Linked DNA regions of Homo sapiens: region 2 is linked to region 1. The links are contacts of gene promoters, found by promoter capture Hi-C in human tissues and cell types (Jung and others, 2019). All regions are on one chromosome and are shown on one strand. The core of a region is centred on a gene start or on the middle of the fragment in contact, and the rest is flanking DNA. Distances in the headings are between cores, read along the strand shown. Region 1 holds the start of KIF2B (kinesin family member 2B). Region 2 has its middle 200 kb from the start of KIF2B.

What was found. The method cuts DNA at HindIII sites, captures the fragments that hold promoters and counts their contacts. A contact is called where the count stands out against the background at its distance.
Region 2: a fragment that was not itself captured here is called in contact with the fragment with the promoter of KIF2B in region 1 in 1 of the 25 tissues and cell types used here (dorsolateral prefrontal cortex).

What each region holds. Positions count from the first base shown.
Region 1 is chr17:53,820,378-53,826,266 of GRCh38, forward strand. It overlaps KIF2B (kinesin family member 2B), which reads left to right and starts at 2,550. Exons shown (of 1, transcript NM_032559.5): 1 at 2,550-4,816. The coding sequence starts at 2,657. The coding sequence ends at 4,678. LOC124904030 (a long non-coding RNA gene) reads right to left here and starts at 2,549. Exons shown (of 2, transcript XR_007065851.1): 1 at 2,347-2,549. The HindIII fragment of the contact is 8,156 bases long and covers 1-5,889 here.
Region 2 is chr17:54,016,198-54,022,086 of GRCh38, forward strand. No RefSeq gene overlaps it. Among named protein-coding and RNA genes, the nearest start is that of KIF2B, 200 kb to the left of the region's middle. The HindIII fragment of the contact is 4,329 bases long and covers 226-4,554 here.

The DNA.
Region 1 (5,889 bases), core at 1,300-3,799:
AAGTCTTCATATGGAATTTATACCATATCATTAGGATGATGAGGAGCTAACAAATGCTTAAAAGCAGTGAATTAATAAGGAAGAACCTGTTAAAATAACTCTAGGAGCAGTGTGAGAAATAGACTAAGTCCCTGACTGGATGAGGTTGCAAAAAAAAAAAAAAAAAGAAAAAAGAAAACAAGCTCATAATTGGTTGGGAGATTAAATGATATCATGGTTATGGAAGACTTCTAGAGACTGGGAAAGGACTACCTAAGTTAGGATGGGCTGAAAGGGGAAGAACACAAAGATCTGTGTCAGGATTTTAAAGATGAGTAAATGTTGAAGTTACTAAAAGCAATTAAAAATAACAAAGACCTGCCATTTTCAGTAAGAAAATAACAGAATCAGTTTTGGATTTGTTAACTTTTTAGTTCCTGCAGGTGACTACAAGTTTAGGACTCATAATTCTGGTTATCAACAATCTATCTAGCCAGCTTTATATAAAATTAAACTGTAGGAACAAATGCAATATACTAGGGAAACTATATAAAAGAGAAAAGAACTGAAAAAAAGTCCTGAAATTGCTATGAAAACCTGTATGAACATGTTGGAGAGAAAGAGGGAGTAAAAGGAAACTTTTCTCTCTGATTTTGGCACTATTATCATGGATCTGCTCATCCATTGTCTGTCTAAAACATTACTAGCTAAGATGAAAACCCTATGGCTAGCCTGGAGGGTCTAGAGTTTTCATAATTTTGAGAGAGACCCAGCTTTTTCAAAGGTAACGGTTAAAAAAACAAAGCAAAACAAACTATTATGTGGGCTCAGTGGCTCAAGCCTATATTTCTATCACTTTGGGAGGGTGAGAAGGGAGACTCCCTTGAGGTCAGGAGTTTGAGACCAGTCTCTGTGCAACACAGCGAGACCTCATCCCTAGCAAAAAAAAAAAAAAGAAAAAAAAAAAAAAGAAAGAAACAAAGAAAGAAAATAGCAAAGCATCCTGACACATGCCTGTAATTCCAGCTACTCAGGAAGCTGAGATGGTAGGATGGCTTTAACCTAGGAGTATGAGGTGGCAGTGAGCTATGATCAGGCCACTGTACTCCAACTTGAATGACAGAGTGCTAATGACAAATACAGTGTATTAAGAATATCTACATCATGGCCTTGAAACCAAGAAAGAACAACTGATTTAAAGCACAACTTTAAGTATTGATAATTTGGGGAAATAAAACATGATATTTTTTAGAAGACAATTGCCTAAAGCCCTTTCTCCTCTCCCTCCACCTGCATACAACCTCCTCTTGAAATGAGCACTGCTTACTTATCTAATTTATCCAGTATCCTCCTTCCACCTTCTTTTCAAAATCTAAGCTTTACTAGACTGACTGAACAGAAAAGTTAGTTTATAGTAGAATTTATTTCTATAGAGGCCCTTATTCCTAGGGAAGGTTGTAACTTGCTACTTCATGTTACTTTGGAGCTATAATTATGATAAAATTCAACAGTCCAAAAGACAACATGCACGGGTGTTGCTAGTGAGCTGAACGTAAGGCATCACCCTTACTCTGAGCTTGGCCTGTCTAAAAGTCAATGTCATTTATTTTATAAGCTAATTCTTATGCATGAAAATATTGCAATCTTGGCAAAATATATTTTTGCATCCGATGGTCTTAGCTGCCTTCCAGCCTTGCTTAACAACTTCTAAAGGACACACACAAGTACTGCAGGGGTGGGGGGAGTATAAGATTAATTATCTCTTTCCACACAATGCCTTTTCTTTCTCTCCCAATTATGGATAATGAGGCCAGAAGTGTAATTACTGAAGGAGTTTGGAAAGGTAATTACTGAACTAATCTCAAAAATGGTGGTGACCACAGCACAACAAAACTCACTTTATAGCTGTCAGAGCCACTTGGAATGTGATACACATGTTGTGTTTGCAAACCCAGGTGCTGTACGAAAGGTAGTTTCATATTAGCAAATTACCACAACGACCTGCTACATTCTACTCATTTTGATTTTGTAATGAGAAAGCCGATTAAACTGTAATAACTTTAAGTTGTGACTCTTAAACAAGTTACACGTTTTGAAGGAGGTGAAAAAACAAAGATGGCGGGTTTGAGGAGCCTTTCTGGGATCCTGTTGAATATCGAGTCCTGAGATTTGCAAATAGCTCTACCTTCATCTATTCCCACTGATCACTGGAGAGTTAAAGTTTAAGGAAACTTCATAGCAATTCTCAAATTAAAGCACTGAGCTTTGAGACTGCCAGCCAAGGCCTCCTTTTATGCTTAGGCATAAATGTACACGGGACATATAAATTAAATTTCAACGCCATGGTTCCCGTTGCTTCTCTGTTACCTGTTCTTTCTCGCCATGATCCGGAGAGCACGCCACATCCTCCTCCAACCCCTTCACCCTCACTGGCAGAGAACAATCTCTCCATCCCTTTGTGCTCCCGTACCATTCACTCCTAAGCCCTAGGTTCTGCCGCCTCATCTCATCCCTTTGTGACGTAGTGGCCCCAGTCCGGGCCCCGGCGCGCTAGGCTCACAAAGGCAGGCACAGACTGCAACCCTGCTCAGTGCTCCGGGCGCTTCAGGCTGGCTTGGGTCCTGCTGCTCCAACCCCAAGGGCCCTGGAGCGCTCCCTGATACCTCCATCACTCACCATGGCCAGCCAGTTCTGCCTCCCTGAATCCCCATGTCTCTCGCCCCTGAAACCCTTGAAGCCACATTTCGGAGACATCCAAGAGGGCATCTACGTGGCGATCCAGCGCAGTGACAAGCGGATCCACCTCGCTGTGGTCACGGAGATCAACAGAGAAAACTATTGGGTCACGGTAGAGTGGGTGGAGAAAGCAGTCAAAAAAGGCAAGAAGATTGACCTGGAGACCATACTCCTGCTGAATCCAGCTCTGGACTCTGCTGAACACCCCATGCCGCCCCCGCCCTTATCCCCCTTGGCTCTGGCGCCCTCTTCGGCCATCAGGGACCAGCGTACCGCCACGAAATGGGTTGCGATGATCCCCCAGAAAAACCAAACAGCCTCAGGGGACAGCCTGGATGTGAGGGTCCCCAGCAAACCTTGTCTGATGAAGCAGAAAAAGTCTCCCTGCCTCTGGGAAATCCAGAAACTGCAGGAGCAGCGGGAAAAGCGCAGGCGGCTGCAGCAGGAGATCCGAGCTAGACGCGCCCTCGATGTCAATACCAGAAACCCCAACTACGAAATCATGCACATGATCGAAGAGTATCGCAGGCACCTGGACAGCAGCAAGATCTCAGTCCTGGAGCCCCCGCAAGAACATCGCATCTGCGTCTGCGTGAGGAAGCGGCCTCTCAACCAGCGAGAGACAACCTTAAAGGACCTGGATATCATCACCGTCCCCTCGGACAATGTGGTTATGGTGCATGAGTCCAAGCAAAAGGTGGACCTCACTCGCTACCTGCAGAACCAGACCTTCTGCTTCGACCATGCCTTCGATGACAAAGCCTCCAACGAGTTGGTGTACCAGTTCACCGCCCAGCCACTGGTGGAGTCCATCTTCCGCAAGGGCATGGCCACCTGCTTTGCCTATGGGCAGACGGGAAGTGGGAAGACGTACACCATGGGTGGAGACTTTTCAGGAACGGCCCAAGATTGTTCTAAGGGCATTTATGCTCTGGTGGCACAGGATGTCTTTCTCCTGCTCAGAAACTCCACATATGAGAAGCTGGACCTCAAAGTCTATGGGACATTTTTTGAGATTTATGGGGGCAAGGTGTATGATTTGTTGAACTGGAAGAAGAAGCTGCAAGTCCTTGAGGATGGCAATCAGCAAATCCAAGTGGTCGGGCTGCAGGAGAAAGAGGTGTGTTGTGTGGAGGAAGTGCTGAACCTGGTGGAAATAGGGAATAGCTGTCGGACTTCCAGGCAAACACCTGTCAACGCTCACTCATCCAGGAGCCATGCAGTGTTCCAGATCATCCTGAAGTCAGGACGGATAATGCATGGCAAGTTTTCCCTCGTTGATTTAGCTGGGAATGAAAGAGGAGCAGATACAACCAAGGCCAGCCGGAAAAGGCAGCTGGAAGGGGCAGAGATTAACAAGAGTCTTCTAGCCCTCAAAGAATGTATTCTGGCTTTGGGTCAGAACAAGCCTCACACCCCATTCAGAGCCAGCAAACTCACACTGGTGCTCCGGGACTCCTTTATAGGCCAGAACTCCTCCACTTGCATGATTGCTACCATCTCTCCGGGGATGACCTCTTGTGAAAACACTCTCAACACTTTAAGATATGCAAACAGAGTAAAAAAATTAAATGTAGATGTAAGGCCCTACCATCGTGGCCACTATCCGATTGGACATGAGGCACCAAGGATGTTAAAAAGTCACATCGGAAATTCAGAAATGTCCCTTCAGAGGGATGAATTTATTAAAATACCTTATGTACAGAGTGAGGAGCAGAAAGAGATTGAAGAGGTTGAAACATTACCCACTCTGTTAGGGAAGGATACCACAATTTCAGGGAAGGGATCTAGCCAATGGCTGGAAAACATCCAGGAGAGAGCTGGTGGAGTACACCATGATATTGATTTTTGCATTGCCCGGTCTTTGTCCATTTTGGAGCAGAAAATTGATGCTCTGACCGAGATCCAAAAGAAACTGAAATTATTACTAGCTGACCTCCACGTGAAGAGCAAGGTAGAGTGAAGCCAATGGCGAGAGATCAGGTCCGAAATGCTGCATTGCTGCAGTTTCCACCACTCTTATACAGGAAAACTGTCCAAATTATCTAAAGATCCTCCTGAGAAGCTTAAAACATCTTAAAATACACTGATGGGAAACATGCTCTTTCTTCTGCCTCTGTATTTCTGTAGTTTGTTTTCATCCTGCTGAACTATAGTTTTCAACAGGGAATGGTTCCTCCCCACCCCCTACCAGGACATTTGGCGATGTCTGGAAACATTTTTGATTGTCACAACTGGGGGTGATGAGGATACTGGCATACAGTAGTTTGAGGACCAGAAATGCTGCTAAGCATTCTAAAGTGTACAGCAGCAGTCCCCAACCTTTTTGACACCACAGACCGGTTTTGTGGAAGGGAGTTGTTCCGTGGGTGGGGTTGGGGATGAAACTGTTCCACTTCAGATCATCAGGCATTAGTCTCCTAAGGAGCATGCAACAACCTATATCCCTCACATGCACAGTTCACAATAGGGTTCATGCTCCTGTAAGAATCTAATGCTCCTGCTGATCTGACAAGAGGGGGAGCTCAGGCGGTAATGCCCGCTCACTGCCAGCTTGCCTTCTGTTGTGTAGTGTGATTCCCAAAAGACCACAGACCTACCGGTCTGCAGCCCAGGGGTTGGGGACCCTGAAGTGTACAGGACAGCTTCTCACAGCAAGTGACTACCCTGTTGCAAACATCAATGGTATCGAGGTAGAGAAACCCTGCTGTAGAAGAAACCAGCTGTGATGAAAGCAGATACACTAAATTTCCAGCTGGGAAAGCAAAACACTGTGAGTTAAAGGAAATAGATTGGAAAGACACCAGGGGTACACAATGGAGTAAATCTAATGATACTGCTCATGAATCTTTCTCTTGCATTGCTGTTTAGATTCAAATGGTTTTTAAGATCTAATCATATTGGGAGGCTGGATTTTCCTTGAAACCATGTATGAGAGCCTAGAATTGAGAGGGACTTTTTAAAAGAAACATTTGAGTTGAAATGGCAAAGTATTGTACTCCCTAGAAGTGATTAAAGTGCATGTGTGTAGGGGTGTGTGTATGTGTGTGTGCACGTTTTGCCTAAGTAGGGCTTTGTTGACTATAGTGTCTTTAATTTTTTTTTCCTCACACACTCTTTACCATATATTGTATTTATATGCTTCACATAAAAAGCCTTCCTGTATCAAGTTGG
Region 2 (5,889 bases), core at 1,140-3,639, 200 kb after region 1:
TCATGTTGACACTCATTAACTATCACGCCAATAAATCCAAGTTAAAAAGAAATTCTCAATTGAACTACGGGGGTATACAGGTATACACGGGATATGAACTACAGGGGTATACACAGAATGAAATCCTGTCATTTGGTGTACAAATTCTACTAGGGAAGGCCGACAATAACAAGTAAGCATATAAATATATAATATAATTTCATTTGACTAATTGATATAATGTTACTTGGCCAAGTCATTTATATTAATGAGTACAATAAGAAACAAACAGAGAAAGATAAAACAGTGTGCTTTCCAAACTTATTCATGCAATGACAAACAATAAATAATACTTAACATTTAAAGAGCACATTGAGTTAAGCAGGCTAAGGCCGTTTGTGGTCAGGGAGAACTGGTGGTGGGCGGAGAATAAGAGGGTACAGTAGCCCTAGGCCTTGCCTTGCCATTCTAAGGAGCAGGGGATCAAGGCTTGGTAATTAATGGCTCATAGACTGGAACATTCTGGGGTAAGGGAATGGATTAGGGGATGACTTCTGGTTTAGCAAAGAGAGACTGGTGAAATGTCTGGAGACATAACATTGAATAGAGACCTAGATAAAGGGGGCCAGCCCTGGAAAAATCTGGGGGATGATTGATCTAGACAAAAGAAGAACAATCACAAGGAACTTGTTTTTCATAGAGGAATGAGTTTGGCAAGTTAGAGAAAAAGCAAGGACTACATAGCAGAGAGTAATGGGAAGTACAGTGGAGGTTAGAAGGTAAGGTCAGACAGGTGGTCACAGCCAAGTCATTCAGTCTTAGAGTCAGTGGTAAGATACTTGGGACTGATTTACATGTAATATGAAGCCATTAGAGGGTTTTGAGCTGGAGAGTTATGTGATTTTATTTATAGTTTTACAAGATCAATATGATTTTTGGTTTAATACTGTTTTTAAGGGGTTAGTAAAAACAAAGAGATTAGTAAAGTGGCTACTATATTAGTCGAGATGAAAGATAAGAAAGGCTTAGCTTAGTGTGTTACCTGAAAAATGGGTGAAAACTGTGATACAGGAGTTAAAAAGAAATTACTTAGGCAGATAGAGAGGGTACGGAAATCCTCGGTAATGATTTTCCTTTTAATAAAAAGCAGCCCAAAATCATTTTCCTTTCTAACAAAGAGCAGCCTGTAAAATTGAGCTGCAGACATAGTTGCCAGAAGAGGAATACTACCTGTGACCAGGCATGTTCAAAATGGCGGCTCCATCTTCCCTTCCCTTTGCCAGCCACATGTACAGCAAGGAGTGGACAAGATGGTGTTGGTCAACTGGAAGCCCATTTGAATAATAAGATTAGGGTGGAGTGGCCAGCCTTCCCCAGACTGTGTCAACGTCACACCTGATTGAACCAATCTGTGTGTCCTACATAAATCAGACACTGCCTCCTCAAGCCAGCCTTTTCCTCTGGGAAGCCCCTCTCTCTCACTAGAGAGAGAGCTGTTTTCCTTTCTTTTTCTTTCTCTTTCTTTTGCCTATTAAACCTCCCATCCTAAACTCCTTGTGTGTGTTTCTGTCCTAAATTTTCGTGGAGCAAGATGACCAACCCTGGGTATTTACCCCAGACAAGAATGCCACTTCAACTGGTCAGATTAGAAAAATAATCTAAAGGTAGAGTTTAAATCAGAATGTGATTTATTTACGGATGTGAGAAGGGAAATGGTATTAAATGTTTTCTAGATTATTGGTCTGAAAAACTAAGTGGATGGTGATACTACTTAGTAAATGGAGAAAATTGGGAGAAAACATCTTGGAAGGTGTTTTCAAATATGTTAATTGGACACGCCTGCTAGAAACCATGAGGTAGAATTACGGAGTGTGGTAATGCAAGGAGAATTCAAGATATGCAAATCAATAAATGTGATAAATCACTTTACAGAGGAAAGGACAAAACGTGTATTAGTATTTCAGTAGATGCAGAAAAATCACTTGACAAATCTCAATATTCCAACATGATTAAAAACTATCAACAAATCAGGTATAGAAGAAAGTAGATTAACACAATAAAGGTCATATATGACAAACCCACAGCTAATATCATACTGAATGGAGAAAACTTGAAAGCTTTTCCCTGAGATCTAAAAAAAGACAAGGATTATCTCTTTCATTATTTCTATTCAATAAAGCCCTGGAAGTCTTAGCCAGAGCAAGTAGGCAAAATAAAGAAATAAAAGTCATCCAAATGGGAAAGGATGAAGTTAAATTGTCTCTGTTTGATGATGATGTAACCATATATATATTTTTTAAAACTACCAAAAAACTGTCAGAAATAATAAACAAACAGTACAGTTGCAGGATACAAAATTAGTGTATGCAAATCAGTAACATTTCTATACACTAGTAGCAAACTATCTGAAAAAAAATCAAGAAACAACTCTATTTACAAAGTTATTTAAAAAATAAAATAAGAATAAATATAAACAAAGAGGTAAAAGACCTCTACACTGAAAACTATAAAACATGGATGCAAGAAACCAAAAAAGACACAAATAAATAAAAAGATATCCCATATTGATGGATGGAAAGAATTAATATAGTTAACATGTCAATACTACCCAAAGTGATCTACAGATTCAATGCAATCTTCATCGAACTACCAATGACATTCTTCACAGAAACATATAAAAGCAATTCTAAATTTTGTATCAAACCATAAAAGACTCCCAAAAGCAAAAGCAATCTTGAGCAAAAAGAACAAAGTTGGAGGAATCATGCTATCTAATTTGAAGACAAACTACAAAGCTATAGTAACCAAAATACATAGTACTAGCATAAAAACAGACTCATAGACAAATGGAAGAGAATAAAAAGCCCAGAAATACTCCCCATTTATAGCCAATTTTTTTCAATAGAGGCACCAAGAACATACAGTGGAGAAAAGACAGTTTCTTCAATAAATGATATTGGAAAACTGGATATCCACATACAGAAGAATGACATTAGACCATTATATCTCACCACATACAAAAATCAATTAAAATTGATTAGACTTAAGTGTAAGACCTGAAAGTATAAAACTTCTAGAAGAAAACATAGGAGAAAATCTTGTCGATATAGGTTTAGGCTAAAAATTTTGGATACGACCTCAAAAGCACCAGCAACGGAAACAAAAATAGACAAATGAGATTACATCAAACTAGAAAGCTTCTGCACAGCAAAAGAAACAATCAACAGAGTGAAGAACAACCTACAGAATGAGAGAAAACAATTGCACACCATACACTGGATAAGGAACTAACATAAAAATTATATCAGAAACTCAAATTGCTCAATAACAAGAAAACTACTGTATTTAAAAATGGGCAAAAAACTTGAATAGGTGTTTCTCAAAAGAAGACATAGGAGGACCAACAGATTGCATACATAATGTTCAACATCTCAAATCATCAGAGAAACACAAAGTAAGACCACAAAGATGAAAGACAAAAAGTGTTGGTGAGGATGTAGAGAAAAGGGAACACTTAACACATTGTTGGTGGGAATGTAAATTAGTAGAGCCATTTGGAAAATTATGAAGATTCAATCAGAGAATAAAATCAATTTCTGGGAATATTTATTTATAACAAAACACAGTTGATGATACAAAAGAGAGACTATTCACTAGTAAAACCTGAGTTACTAGCCTAGAAGACAAACGAGAAGAAATACCTCAAAGAATGAAGCATAAATGCAAGATAATGGAAATAATTGAAAAAAGATAAGATAATTGGGTGCATGTGAAGAAAACCTAATTGAAAGATAGTATTGCAGAAGAAAAAAAAACTATGTGAGCAAAATAATATTATTAAACAAATATAAGAGAAAATTTCCCCCAGTTGAAGAATATATACATCTGCAAATTTAAACTACACACCAAATTCCAGGCAGAATTAATGAGAAAAAAAAAAAGAAACCCTAAACATATCTGGGTAAATTTCTTGAATTCCAAGGATAAAGAAAAATACTGATAGTGTCCAAAAGAAAAGCCTGAGATATTTACAAATAAAACAAAGTCAGTTCTGGCATAAAACTTTCAGAAATTAAAATATATATGCCTTTCTTTTTTTTTTAGAACACCTCTTTCAATCAGTCTTTCAAAAATGGTCTATGAAGATTAACTTTCTTGGTGCTTTTTATGTCTAAGAATTATTTTTTTTTTCTGTTCCACTTGATTTCTAGCTTGGATACTTATTCAATTCTATATCCAAATTATTTTTCTCGTAGCTTAAAAAATTAAAATTTGTGTCCTCATTATCGTCTAATTTCCATTTTACTTAGAATGCAATTTAGAATATCCCTTTTGAGGTTGTCTTATTTCCATGGAGTTCTAAATATTCCCTTTAAGGTATCTAGGTATAGGTTTTTGCCATTAATTTTATCTAGCACTGACACTTTCAGCCTAGAAATGTATACTTTTATCATCTGCAGGAAATTATACTGTTACTTATTTATTCCTGTCCATTCTCTTTGTTCATTTCTTCTGACATTCAGTTATATGGTTATTGGATCTTCATTTACCTCACTGTCTCTTCTTTAATCTTTTGTAATTTTTTTTTTGTTTTTATGTTATTTTGTTGGAATATCTTGGATTAATCTAACTCTTAAATAATTCAGACTTCCACCGAATTCAAACTTCGATTGAGCTCTTTACTTTCTTTGTAAATTTTATTTTTCAAGACTTATTAAAATATAATTGACAGATAAAATTTTTACATATTTACAATGCAGGATGTGATGTTTCAATATTGTATATATTGTGAAATGATCAAGTCAAGCTAATCAACATATCCAATACTTCACTTGTCATTTTTTTGTGATAACGTTTAAGATCTATTCTCTTGGCAATTTTCAAATATGCGATACATTATTATTAACTACAGTCATGTACAATAGATTTACAGAACTTGTTTATCCTGTCTAATGGAAATTTGTACACTTTGATCAACACTTCCCCATCTTCACCCCATCAGCTCCTAGTAACCACCATTTATAAACCATCTGATAACAGGCTAATATGCAAAATATATAAGGAACTCAACGCAACAGCAAGAAAACAAATAACAATTAAAAATGGTCAAAGAATCTGAATAGAGATCTGTTAAGAGAAGAAATACAAAGGGCCAACAGGTATATGAATAAAAGGCTCAAGTCACTAATCATCAGGAAAATGCAAATTAAAACTATGATGAGATGTCACCTCACAACTGTTAGAATGGCTATTATCAGAAAAACATATATATATCACATACATACACATACGCACACAGACTAACAATGGCTCATTGTATGAAATTTTATTCATCCTTAAAAAATAAGGAGAGCCAATCATCTATGACAATATAGAGGAACCTGAAAAACATTATACTAAGTGAAATAAGCCAGGCACAGAAAGACAAATATTGCACAATCTCATTTATATGTAAAATCTAAAAAAGTTGAACTTATGGAAGCAGAGACCAGAAGATTGGTTAATTTTTTTTCACTTTATCATGTTTACATTTACATTAAAGAACACCAATTAACTTACTTTATAGTAGTCTATTTTGTTTTATGAATGTGATGGTCTTCTAAATATATCTGAGAATTTAGTTAGATTTATTGTTTCAGTTACCTTTTGATTCCATTCTTCATGGTTTTCTTAGTATTTATTGTTTTCTTTCTGTATTTAATATTCTACTTTCATGTGTGTATTTTCCTCAACTTTGGATTCTATTCATGTTTTAAAATAAGAATACCCTGTATACCTGCACTGAGTGGCAGAAGGAACTGTGCAATGGGATGTGAGGAGGGTTTATCTTCATAATTTATGTGTTCTCTGTATTTCTATGGCTGGCAAGTGATCTGGAGCACTGCCTTGCTTCTCTAGCATGAACTACAA